Regions from separate parts of the Homo sapiens genome. Here region 2 is linked to region 1. Evidence: promoter capture Hi-C in 16 types of primary human blood cells and fetal thymus (Javierre and others, 2016). All regions are on one chromosome and are shown on one strand. The core of a region is centred on a gene start or on the middle of the fragment in contact, and the rest is flanking DNA. Distances in the headings are between cores, read along the strand shown.

What was found. Contacts are between HindIII fragments. The CHiCAGO score rates a contact against its expected background, and 5 or more counts as called.
Region 2: a fragment that was not itself captured here is called in contact with the fragment with the promoter of KCNQ1-AS1 in region 1 in 3 of 17 cell types (M1 macrophages, naive CD4 T cells and total B cells); the score reaches 6.4 in M1 macrophages.

Annotation. Positions count from the first base shown.
Region 1 is chr11:2,858,241-2,864,513 of GRCh38, forward strand. It overlaps KCNQ1-AS1 (KCNQ1 antisense RNA 1), which reads right to left and starts at 3,329. Exons shown (of 3, transcript NR_130721.1): 1 at 2,750-3,329; 2 at 503-699. RefSeq lists enhancers at 1-490, 4,719-5,416. The HindIII fragment of the contact is 10,846 bases long and covers 1-6,273 here.
Region 2 is chr11:2,178,301-2,184,573 of GRCh38, forward strand. No RefSeq gene overlaps it. Among named protein-coding and RNA genes, the nearest start is that of MIR4686, 8.4 kb to the left of the region's middle. The HindIII fragment of the contact is 1,577 bases long and covers 2,479-4,055 here.

The DNA.
Region 1 (6,273 bases), core at 2,079-4,578:
CTGCTCCCCAGGAAAAGGCTTCATTGTCTCCCACCCCCCGGCCACCGCCTGGCTCAGGAGACACGGGGGCTCCAAGCTGCGAGGTCACCCGGCCTTGCAGAATCCACCTGCAGCCGCACCAGTCCAGGAAACCAAATCCCAGCGGCAGATGACAGCCGAGGGTGGCAGGACAGAGTGCCCATTCAGCCTCCGCTGGAGCCGGCCTGGCCTGACCTGGCGGCCGCCTCCCCTACCTGGGCCCTCTGGTGCCTGAGCCCAGGCCTCACTTAGCCTCTGCTGACCAGAGAGAGGGCTGGGACGTGCCCCACCCTGGGGCACCCACAAGTGTGAGGATGGCTGGTGAAGGTGGCAGAGACCCTGCCCCACAACCAGGGCCTCCTGCAGCCCAGAGTGGGCTCAAGGGAGTCTCCAAGCCAAGCATTAACAGGGATCTCCTTTGAACTTGCCAAGCATTGCTGCCCCATCTTACGTATGAGGAGCCTGAGGCTGGGAACCAACTCACCTTTCAGCTGGGTGCAGCCAAGCTGGAGCCTCGCTGACTCAGGGGTCCCTCCTCAGTGAGCAGATGGAGAAGGTGGCCTGGAAAGGGCCCCAGGCTGCACAGCAGCCTGTTGTAGGGAAGAGGAGACGGGCCAAGGCATGGGGACACATGGACCCATTTCACAGACAGGCAGCTGAGGTGGCAGCCTCGGCAGCAAGCTGACAAGAAGACACCAGGACAGCCCTTGCGTGAGTTGCATCGAAGACAGGAGACCCGCCCACCCTCCCCTCCTTACCATCCTGCAGGACCTGAGACCACCAGCCATAGCTGGTCCCTCATCGCCTCCCCCTATCCCCAGCCCTGGCCTCTGCATTTGGGCAAAGGCTATGGAGGAAGAGGCTTTGGCTTTTTGGCCCTGGCTTCAGCCAAATCCCCCAAGCACCTCGTGGAGGAGAATGGCTGCACCTGGGAGCCACGTGGGCTCCATGGAGGCCCTAAAGAGACCAGGCCTCAGCCCCAGGTGAGGCTTAATACCCCCTCTCCAGGCAGAAAGTAACCATTTCTTTTCCAGTGGTTCTCCAGCTTAGGGTCTCCAGCCAGACTGGCCGCTTATGGGCCAGGTGTAAAGAGAGGGACAGAGGGGGCAGGGAAGTGCGAGTGTTCTCAGGCCACTGGGGCCCGTCCCCACCCACACCCAGTCATCAGCCCCAGGGACAGCCAGGCCCTCCGCAGTGCAGGGTACACCCCGATTCTGCAGCCGGGCCCCAGGGCCCAGTGCTTCCTCCAGGCTGCCCCGGGCTCCCTCCTGAGTGGCAGGCCCAGGCCCGGACTCTGGCCCCAACCCGCAGGCTCAGAGGCAGCCCTGCCTTCCACAGACCAGGCCACGAGTTGCCTGTCACTCAGCTCTTCTGCCTGGTTGGTCACACTGAAAAGAGCATCCCGTGGCTGGGAGGCATGGATATCAGCTCCAACTCGGCTCAGGAAGCAAGAGCTGGAAACCCAGGCGCAGGAGGCATCTTCAGGCCCGGCGCATGCTGTGGCAGCTGCCCCAGGTCCTCCCAAACGCCACCTGCCAAACTGGCCCTCCTCCCCATCTGGGTTTAGCAAACTCCTACTCATCCTCCAAAGCCCAGAGCGAAAGGGCTCCTCTTCCATGATGCTCCTCTTCCAAAAGCAGCCCAGGGTCTCCCCTACGGCACTCAGCACCCACCGCAGACACTGTCTGTGTCCTTGAAGCTGATCTCCCTGCCAGACGGGCAGCGGCCCTCGAGGGCATTGCAAATGGGATGCCTGACAAGAACAACCCTTGAGGATTAGGAAATAGGGGTCTGCTGGAAGCCAATGCAGGCTGGATCTGAGACCTCCTGAAGACAAAGCGCAGGGAGCTGTGCTCATGCTCACACTGGGCATGGGGTTCACACTGTCTGCTGAGGGCTGCTTCCCTGTCCTGGAGGATGGGAAGGACAGAGGGGAAAGAGGGGCTCACCCACATCCTGCTCTCTGCACAGTGCCCCCTCCAGCGCCTGTCCACACAGACCAGCCGCACTGCAGTCCCTCAGAAGCCCTAGGGTTCCACCCCATCTATGCACCCTCTCCCTGGGTTCATGCCTGCTCCCCTGGGCCCACCCCACCCATGCGCCTACTCCCCCCACAGCCCACCCATCCCCAGAACCCTCCTTGCCCACATGCCACAGCAGTATACTTTTGAAGGCAACACTGAAGGTGGGGAGTTTCTGAAATCCTCTGTGCTTCCATCTCCTCTATGGGCGCACCCCAAGAGGTTGGGAGAGCGAGGTGCTGGTGCCCAGCCCAGCACAGATAGATGAGGCCACCGTCCAGTCTACTTCGTTTTTCCAGACATCTCACACCCATAACTGGCCTGAGGAACCTCATTCCAGCTTCCAAAGAACACGGAGTGCCAAGCACCACCACACCCCAGGCTCCACACCTCCCAGAACCCTTGTGGTAGGGGAAGGAGGGGGTTACTCTGCCCCATTTACCTAAGGGAAACTGTAAGGCCTGGATGGAGAAGTGCCCCCCCTCCAGCTCACACGGCTACCAGGCCAGAGACCTTTGCCCCACCACACATGTTGGCCCACAGATGAGGCGGTGAGTCATTCAGCCACATCACAGACGGGAGATCCCCTGCCCCTTGGGAGGAGCTGGAGTCCCCACACCTGGGATCCAGTGCCAGGCTTTAGCACGGACCCCTGTGTGCCCACACCCACCCTGTCTGAACCCCCCATTAAGGGACTCGTGTTTACACACCGGTCCCTGAGTCCCCGATTTCTGAGAAAATTAATTGGCAGGGTAATTCTCACTAGAGTGTTGTTGACTTCTCCATTTGTAGCTTGCTCTTTCTGACAGTATCTGCACTGCAGAGGGAGAACCTGAAGAAGACCTCACCTGAGCTCCGAGGTGTGGATTTCTGGGCAGATTTGAGACTTTGTGGCCCCTGCTAAGGGGATATAATTGAGGGTCCCCATAAATCATGACTCGGTCTATGAGGAACCAGCACCTAGCTGCATCCCCAGCCTCTTCCTTCTTCACACCCAAGCAAAACCCCAGGTTCCAGCCCCACCTAGCAGACTGAGGGCAGGCCATGGTCCCCCCTGCTCCATTCCAGACTCCACTCTGGCTTTTCTCCTTCAGGAAACCTCCTCATAACCCTCAGGCTGGGTCCGGGGCCCAGGCCCTACAGATGTGCTGGGTGCTGGTGCTGACAGACAGGACGGCAACCGTAGCTGGACCTCACCCTGGACAGCATCGCCACAACCCCCACTGGTCCACCTGGGAGAACAGAGACCCAGAGATAGCCACACACTGTCCTCTGTGCCCCTCATTGCCCCCCAGGCCTTTGGAGGTTCTGGGGGTGGCTACTGCAGTTTAATTTGGGCCACAACCCCTAATGAGCAGCCCAACGGCATGGGGGGCAGTTTGTAGGCACCCAGAGCCTGAGCAATGTGGCAGAAAGTCCAGGGGGCCTTCCAGGGGCCTCCAAGTGACCCAGGTATCTGGCAGAGCCCAGCTGGCCCCAGGGCTCCCAGTCCCGGCCTCCTGCTCCCCGGCCCATTGGCCCTGGCTGCAGCCTCAGTTGTACCAGCTGGGGAGTCCCAGATTTCCTGTACCACCACCCCACACACTTGGTCCCCTAAAGACCTGATACTGAGCTCTTGCTAATCATCTGGCTGTCACTAAGCTGCCCCACAACCATTTTCAAAGAGTCCCTGATTTTTAAGGCCCATAAAACACTGTGAAATGGCCTTTTTCAAACATTGAGGGCATTAATGACCATGGCAAAAACAAAAACCTGTCCAGGTGGCCAGTTTTTAGTAGCTCCCAATACAAAATTGCCCCCACCACGCAGCCCCCACCTGTCCACGCCCCCTCCACTTACCCACCCCGAGGGATTCTAGCCAGGACCCCTGCGTCCTGAGAAATCCTTTCCAGGAGTAGGCTGGGGAATACCGGCCCAGAGGGGCGAGGACCGGATGGGGGCAGGGGTAGGGTTCAAGGGGCCAGGGTCCCAGGGGCTCTCCTGGAGGCTGCAGAGGAACCCAGCCTGGGTGGGGGGCTCCGACGCTCCACAGCCTGTCCTGGCCCGGCCAGGCCCGGCCCGGCCCGGCCCCCTGCCCAGTCGCGGCACTGCCCGGCCCGACCCCCAGACCTTCGGGGTGCCCAGTCCGAGCCTGGGCCGCTAGGGGCCGCGGGCCTGGCGGGCGGGGCGGGGGCCGGGGTCGGGGGTCCGGCGAGCTTTAATGCGCGCACAAAGCCTCATTTGCAGGTCAATGCCGCGGCACACTCGCCTCTCCCCTCGCCCGGCGCCCTTTGTCCGGCCGCGCCCGCTCCTCGCGCCAGATGGCCGCGGAAATGCTAATTTCGGGCGCCCCTGCCCCCCCACCCCCGCGTTTAATTGCGCCTTTGCAGATGGGCCGCGAGTGTGCGCTTCATGCAGATGAGCGCGGCCTCGCCGCCTTCCTCGGACCTCCGGGAGCCGCGGCCGGGCGTGCTGGGGCCGAGGGCAGGGAGGGGGCCGCTGTCCCTCCACTCGACGCGCCGCCGGGCACGGGCGGGCACCCAGCGGCCCGGGCCCGGGAAGCGCGCTTCTCTCTTTTCATTTCTCCAAAATGGGATCTTAAGTGATTCTGAATGAAAACAAATTGGCCCGCTTTCTTCTCCAAACAGACGCGCGGCGCGGTGGGGGCGGCGGGCGCGGGCCCGGGGCGGCCCGGGCGGTGGGGTTGGCTCCGGGACCCCCTGCCCGGCCCGGCCCTCGCGCCTTCTCCCCGCGGCCCGCCTTCCTCAGCCCTGGGCCGGCGGCACTTGGAGGCGGCCGGGCAAGACGGCAGACGTGGGGGCCCCTTTAACCGGAGCCAAGGATCCCCGGACTTTCTGACCAACCAGGAGCAGAAGCCCGCCAGGTCACCCTCGCCTTTCATGACAGAAACAGATTCCCAGGCTGGTCGGAGCGCAGAAATGAGGCAGGCCAGGGCCGGCCTCCGCCACCCCGCCCATCTCCAGCCCCAGCAGGAGCCTGGCCCAGGCCTCTGGCCCCACAGCGCCAGGGAGCATCCTCCGGGAGCCCAGGCCTGCCTCGAAGCCTAGGGCTGGGGCAGGCTGGGCAGAGTGAGGGAGGGAGGCAGTTTCTTTGTGATGTGTCCACTTTACTAGCAAAATTTCAACCACAAACTTAGAAAACCTATACATTGGTGGGTGATTCACTTGCTCCACCACCAGCGATGAAACAGAGACAGAGCCACGTTCTGGGTAAGTAAGAATACTCCCAATACAAAACTCAGCCACAGACCTTTAAAAAGAAAAGGGTGCCGGGCGCGGTGGCTCACGCCCGTAATCCCAACACTCTGGGAGGCCGAGGCGGGAGGACTGCTTGAGCGCAGGAGTTCCAGTCCAGCCTGCACAACCTGGCGAGGTCGCATCTCTACAAAAAATCTTCTGATTTTTTTAGCCAGGCGTAGCGGCGCGCCTGTAGTCCCAGGAAGGATCACTTGAGCCTGGGAGGTGGAGGCTACATAGAGCCATGACTGTGCCACTATACTCCAGCCCAGGTGACAGAGTAAGACCCTATCTCAAAAAAGAAAGAAAAAAAAGAGAAAGAGAAAGAAAGAGAGAAGAAGGAGGAGGAGGAGGAGGAGGAGGGAGGAGGGAGGAAGAAAGGAAAGAAAGAAGAAAAAGAAAGGAAGAGAAAGAAAGAAAAAGAAGAGATAAAGAAAGAAAAAAGAAAGAGAAAGAAAGAAAGAAAGAAAGAAAGAAAGAAAGAAAGAAAGAAAGAAAGAGAAAGAAAATCATCTGTTCCTGAAACATTCTGTGATACTTTCGTAATTTGCTCAGCCAGAGGACTGAAAGTGCAGGCGGATCCCTCAGCCTTGGGCTCAGCTGGGACTGAAGTCAGCTGACAGAGTGAATCTGGCCCAACTGCCACCAGTCTGACTCTGGCACCCTGGCCCTGGCGTGACCTTCACAGCCGCACCCCCCACCCCCCACCTCCGCCTCAATGCCCACCCTCCAGCTCCACATCACTGAGCCTGCCCTGCTGCGCCCTTGCACGGGCACCCTGGCTGCCAGCTCTCCTCCACCCATTCCTCCTCTGAGTGTCCTCAGGCCCCTCAGGGGCTGCTCTTCCCTGGACACCCAGGAGCCTCAACCTTTGCCCTGTGCCACACCTCCCTCACCTGGCTCTTGAAAGGAGTCCCATCCACCTTCCCCTCAGGGTGAAGCTCAGGGCCTGGCCCACACCCCTGCTGGTACTCAAGGCCCACCTGGGGGACCTAATG
Region 2 (6,273 bases), core at 2,017-4,516, 680 kb before region 1:
CCTGGCTCCAGGAGCTCCATGCCAGACTCAGGCTGGCTCAGGCTTGGGGCTGGAGGGGGAGTAGGACGGTTCCACCCATACCTGGCTGGCCCACATCACCAGGAAGCCCACACCAGGACAAGAGGCTCCAGGGGTATGGAGATGCTGGAATTGCCGAGAGCACCCTGGTTGTGTGTGCAGCCAGGCTTGGGAACCCACGCACCAGAGCTTGGCCTGGAGTTTTCGCTGGTCTGTGTCTGTGTGGGAGACAGAGTGTGCATTCAAGGGTGTGTGTGTGTGCGCGTGTGTGTGTGTGCCAGGAAGCATGTGTGGGAGTGCTTCTCTGCGTGTACATGTGTTGTACATGCTTCTAAAATTATTCATGTGAGTGTATGATTTTATGTCCACATGCATGCATGCGTGTGTTTGTGTAAGTGTGTGTGTGTGTCCTATGTATGCATGTGCATGTGTGTGTACAGTAGGGGCTTAGAAGAGCTGACCAGCCATTGATATGGAACAAACAGGGTGACCCCAGCTCCTGTGTCCCTCCGGACTCTCACACGACATCATGGCCAAGGTCCCCACCGGCCCTGAGTTCCTGCCAGGTGCTCCTGGTTTCTTGCAGACCCCTCCGGGCACCCAGCCTCGCCCCCATGCCGGTGACTCAATCAGACCTCCGGTCCCCACCCTCTGCCCCCTCCCCCTGGCTCTTGACAGCCTCTGACAAATTAGTCGAGTGAAAAGCAATAAGAGCGGCATTCAGTTCTCATTAGTCACTCACCGAGGCGGCAGCTGTGCTTTGACAGCAAATCACATCTCATTGCAAGGCCACAGCCCGCCCTGGCCCCCCAGCAGTGCCAGTGCCACGGGCTTGGGTGCTAGTCACCTGGCCTGTGGCAGGGAGAAGATGTGGTCCCACCGCTGCTCTGAGCTGAGGCAGGTCCACACCCAGGGCTCATGTGCTTCATTCCATCTGTGCTGTGACTCCCCTTCCCAGCCACACGTGTAGACTTGGAGGCCCCACCTGGGGAGAGGAGCCCCGCCTGTGGCCTGCACGGCCCTGGGCTGCGTTCACAGGGGACCTGGGCAGGCAGCTGCATGCATGGAGGATGGTGGGAGGCACTGGGGCATTTGCCCACAAGATGCAGACTCTGGGAGGGGAGGAGGTGACCTCAATGCCACCTCTCCCAAGGGCGATCAGAGGAAGGAGGCCCAGCTTGGACATACAGGGCCTGAGGAGAGGGGCCTTGGAGGCAGCCACATACAGACATGGAGGAGAGGCCGCACACTGGGTCAGAGCCGGGGAAACAGAACAGGGGTGCGGAGGACCCCTTGCATCACCTAGGACCCGTCTGGCCAGCCACTGTAGGCTCCTCTGCTTGGCCCCACGGCCTCGCCAGGGCCTTCTGTGGCCCCGCCCCTCTTGGCCGGCTGTCCACACACCCTCCACCCTGGGGGCAGCTGGGCTCAGATTTGGGAGCATCCTGGAACAGAGGGGACCCCCTGTGTGTCTCCTGTCCCTGAATCCTGTCCTTCCCTTCTGCACCTGCCTGACTTTGGGGGCCTGCAAGAGCAAGAGCCCCTCGCCCATGGAGTTCACCTCCTGCCACCCTGTGCTCCTGAGGGCGGGAAGGGAGGAGCAGCCCAGGCCTCTAGTTCTTGTTTCAGATGAGGGTTGGACGTGGCTGCTGAGGTCCCCAGTTGGCCCCACGCTGACACTTTACGGACAACACGGCAGAGACCCCCACCGCCTGAGAGAATGCAAAGGTCCCACTGCGGTGAGATGAGTCTCCAGGGGGCTTGGTAACGCTTCCATGGGCAACTCGATCGTAAACATCCTTATTTTCCCTCCACCCGTGCTCAGGAGAAACGTGTTGCTCCCTTGGGCTCTGGAAGCCCTGAGCCGATGGGCAGACCTGGAGGGAAGCCCGCAGGTGGCCTGCTCAGGCAGTGGCTGCTGTGACCGCCTTGTCCAGGGGCTGGTCCAGATGCCCTAGGTTCCCCGAACCAACATCACCACCCCCCCATGGCCGGGTGGCCCCCTCTCTCGAGGACTCACTGGGCCTGCAGGGGGGCAGCTTTCTCTGCCCCCACCCGTGGGCTGCTGGTTTGGGCCTGGAAGTGCGTCCGCCCCACTCCGGCCAAGCTCAGTCTCCCCACTCTCCTCAGCCTGCTACCCCATGGGAACCAGCCCGGGCTGGGGCTGAAAGAAGAGCCCCTGGCCCCAGTGAGACCCTCTGAGCCCCTCCCCAGGTGCCCCGGGCTGGCCCAGCCCAGGTCCTGAGCAGGAGCAGGAAGGAGGAGGTGGGCGCATTCACTTCAGGTACCTCTGCTAATCCCGGGGCTCGGAGGAGCCCCCACCCCCGGCTGACATTTCCAGGCCGCTGCGTGCCGCTGCCCCAGCCGCCGTGATATTTAGACAGGGCTTGTTTGCCATGTGATTACTTTGGGGCCTGGGATGAACTCTACCAACACCTGAGCTTGTCCGCTTTGCTCCAAAGCTTGTTTTTAATACACTCGCTGTCAGCTAAGCCGGCTCCCTCCAGCTGTGGGGTCCGGTCCCCTCCTGGGCCAGAGGGAGGACTAAGCCCAGGTTTTCCTCAGGAAGACAGATGCCTCCTCACTTTCCACACTGAGGGCAGGTCCCAGGAGGCTGGAAGGCTCCATCGTCCCCACCCAGCCCCCAGGTGAATGAACTCACTCATTCACTGATTCACGCAGCAAGCATTTCCTGGGTGCCCTTTGGGAAACAGCACGGAAAGGGAAACAGCACGGTCCCAATTTTGGAGGCTCTCATAGTCTGGGGGAAGGGAGGCCCACGGTCCTCACATCCAGTACAGCCGAGACCCTGCCAGGGGCGGCCAGGGAGGTGTCTGGAACAGCCCCCTCCAAGTGGGAAGCACATGGCCCCTGTCCCCACCCCAGCATGGCCTTGGGGGTGGGGGACCTGCCATGCTTCAGGGAGGGTGAGGCCAGTGGCCAGCACAGCACAGTTCGGGGCACACAATGGGGAGGTGGAAGGGCTGTGGTGTGGCCACACTCCCCTCACCCCACAGTCTCCAAAAGAGGATTTAACTTCTATTTTTTAAATGTTTATTTTGAGAGACAGGGTCTTTGTCACCCAGGCTGAAGTGCAGTGGCTTGATCATGGCTCACTGAAGCCTTGACCTCCCGGGCTCAAGCCATCCTCCCATTTCAGCCTCCCAAGTAGCTGGAGCTGCAGGGGCACACCAGCACGCCTGGCTATTTTTAAAAATTTTTTTGTAGAGAGGGGGTCTCACTGTGTTGCCCAGGCTGGTCTCAATCTCCTGGCCTCAAGTAATCCTCCCACCTTAGCCTCCCCAAATTCTGGGATTACAGGCTCGGCTACCACACCCGGCCAGGATTCCAAATCCTTGCAAGTTCCCCAGATTCTGGGCCTGGGGAGCCTCCCGGGATCTTCTGGGCCTCTGTTCTGTCTGCCAAGGCTGCTTTCTAGGGGAGGAAAAGTAACCAGAAACCAGGAGGCCTGAGCTCCTGGCCAGCAGGTCTCAGGAAAACTAGGGCCTGAGAAGCATCAAGAGCCCTGTCACAGAGCTGGTGGGGCCACAACCCAGGCCACTCCCATCCCCAGGAGCCAGGAGAAACTGGGCGGGCCCTTGGGATGAAGAACTGTCACCAAGGCTGCTGGGCCCCCCACCCTGTGCAATCAGATTGGGGAGCGAGGGCGTCCCGGAGATGGAGCAGGTGGGGCAGGGTGTGGACCCTGTGTCCCTGGGGCCCTGGGGGCCACAGGTGTAGGGAGACACCTTGGTCTCTGCACAGCAGCCATAGTGGCTTCTGGCTCCTTCCCTGCACTGTCAGCCTCAGCCTCAGCCAGTCCGGGTCAGTCCGGGCCAGGCGGGCAGCCAACCCAAGAAAGCCCCTACTCGTGCAGCCGAGGACACAGAGGGGGCAAAAACTGCATCCAGGGAAGAAAGGGCTGTGGGCAGGTGCCACAGGCCAGGGCTGAGAGGGCGGGCACCCTCTGTGGAGCCGACCTTGGAGCAAGGCTGCCCGGGCAGGAGTCTCCCAGCGCAGGGCACGGCCCATGCAGAAGCTTCCGACCGGAGAGCTGGTGGCACGCCCAGGACCCTCCCTCCCGCCAGGGCCTCGGTCCAGACCCACCCGTCCTCATCTTAGGCAGGGCTTATTGGCCGTGCGATTACTTTGGGGCCTGGGATGAACTCAGCTGGACGCCTCAGCTTGCCGCCTGTTTTTAATAAAGGGTCCCCCAAACAGGGGACCTTCCTTCTGCCCCGCCCCCGCCCCACAGGTCCCCAGCAGCGGCACCTTTCTGCGTGTGTGTGACCGATTCGTTCACGTCGACTCCTCCCCTGGACAGAGGCTTCTGGAAAACTAAAGTTGGCCCCTTGGTTCCCCCCTTGCCAGGCAGGGCTGGCCCTCAGAGCCTGGTGGATGAACAGACCAGGAGGGAAGTTTGGGAACACCCGGCTCAGAGATGAGAAGAGAGGGTGGATCAGCCGCCACATGGCAAAGCCATGGGCCAGCTCTCCCTGCCACGGCCAGTGGACCCGGGACTTGGGTTCTCCAGCATGGGCCCAGGCGGCTCGGAGCAGGGGCTGCTTCCCTCCGGCCCTTTCCCCGAAGCCCGCTCCCTTCTCCACCCCCGTCCCTGCCCACTCCCCGCAGGCCGGGGTGCACTTGGAGCCCCGAGGACCTCCGAGGCTGTCGCCACCCTCCTCTGTTCTGACTGCTTTCTATTACTGGGCTTGTAAAATGATTATTGTTTTGCTGTGGTAAGATGTACATAATATAAGATTTACCTGTTTTTTTTGTTTGTTTGTTTGTTTTCGTTTTTGATTTTTTTTTTTTGAGGCAGGGTTTCAGTCTGTCCCCCAGGCTGCAGTGCAGTGGCACAATTTTGGCTTACTGCAGCCTCGAACACCTGGGTTCAAGCAATCCCCCCACCTCAGCCCCCCAAGTAGCTGGGACTATAAGCAGGTGCCACCACATCCGGCTTTTTTGTAGAGATGAGGTTTCTCTGTGTTGCCCATGCTGGTCTTGAACCCTGGCACTCAAGTGACCCTCACACCTCCCAGCACCTCAGCCTCCTAGAGTGCTAGGCTTGCAGGCGTGAGCCACTGCGCCTGGCTAAATTTTACCATTTTAACCACTGTTCATTGTCCAGTTCAGTGGCATTAAGTACATTCACATGGTTGCAAAACCGTCACCACTGCCATCTCCAGGACTCTTTTCATCTTCTAAAACTGAAACTCTGTTCCCCATTAAACACTCGTTCTTCAGCTCCTGGTACCGACAATGGCTCTCTGTCTCTACGCCTGTGACTGCCTTAGGGACTGTGTCTAAGTGGGATGCTGCAGTACCTGTGCTTCTGAGGCTTATTTCACTCAGCACGATGCCCTCGGGGTCATCCCTATGCAGCAGTGTCAGAATTTTCTTCCTCTCTAGGATGGGCCATCTTTTGTCCATTCATTCACCTGTCAACACACACTTGGGTTGCTTCCGCTTTTTGGCTCTTGTGAGTTCTGAACCTATGAACGTGAGCATACAAGCATCTCCTTGAGACTCCCCCTCTTTTTTTTTTTTTTTTTTTTTTTTTTTTTTTGAGATGAAGTCTCGCTCTGTCCAGGCTGGAGTGCAGTGGCGTGATCTCGACTCACTGCAACCTCTGTCTCCCGGGTTCAAACGATTCTCCTGCCTCAGCCTCCCGAGTAGCTGGAATTACAGGCATGCGCCACCATGCCTGGCTAATTTTTATATTTTTAGTAGAGACAGGGTTTCACCATATTGGCCAGGCTGGTCTGGAACTCCTGACCTCATGATTCACCTGCCTCGGCATCCCAAAGTGCTGGGATTACAGGAGTGAGCCACCGCGCCCAGCTGAGACCCCCCTTTCTGTATACACATACACACACACATACGTTTTTTAAGAGATGGGGCCTCACTCTGTCACCCAGGAGTGCAGTGGCACCATCATAGCTCACTGCAGCTTCAAACTCCTGGGCTCAAGCAATCCTCCCACCTCAGCCTCCCAAGGAGCTGGGAATGCAGGTGCGCACCACCACGCCCAGCTAATGTTTTAATTTCTTGTAGAGATAGGGGATCTCCATATGTTGCCCAGGCTGGTGTTGGACTCCTGGCCTGGGTGATCCTCCTGCCTTGGCCTCCTAAAGTGTTGGAATTATAGGCATGAGTCACTGCACCCAGCCTTCTTTCAATTCTTTTGGGGCTAGACCTAGAGGTGGCATTGTTGGGCCATGTTGGACCATTACACACTCCCCCCAACAGAGC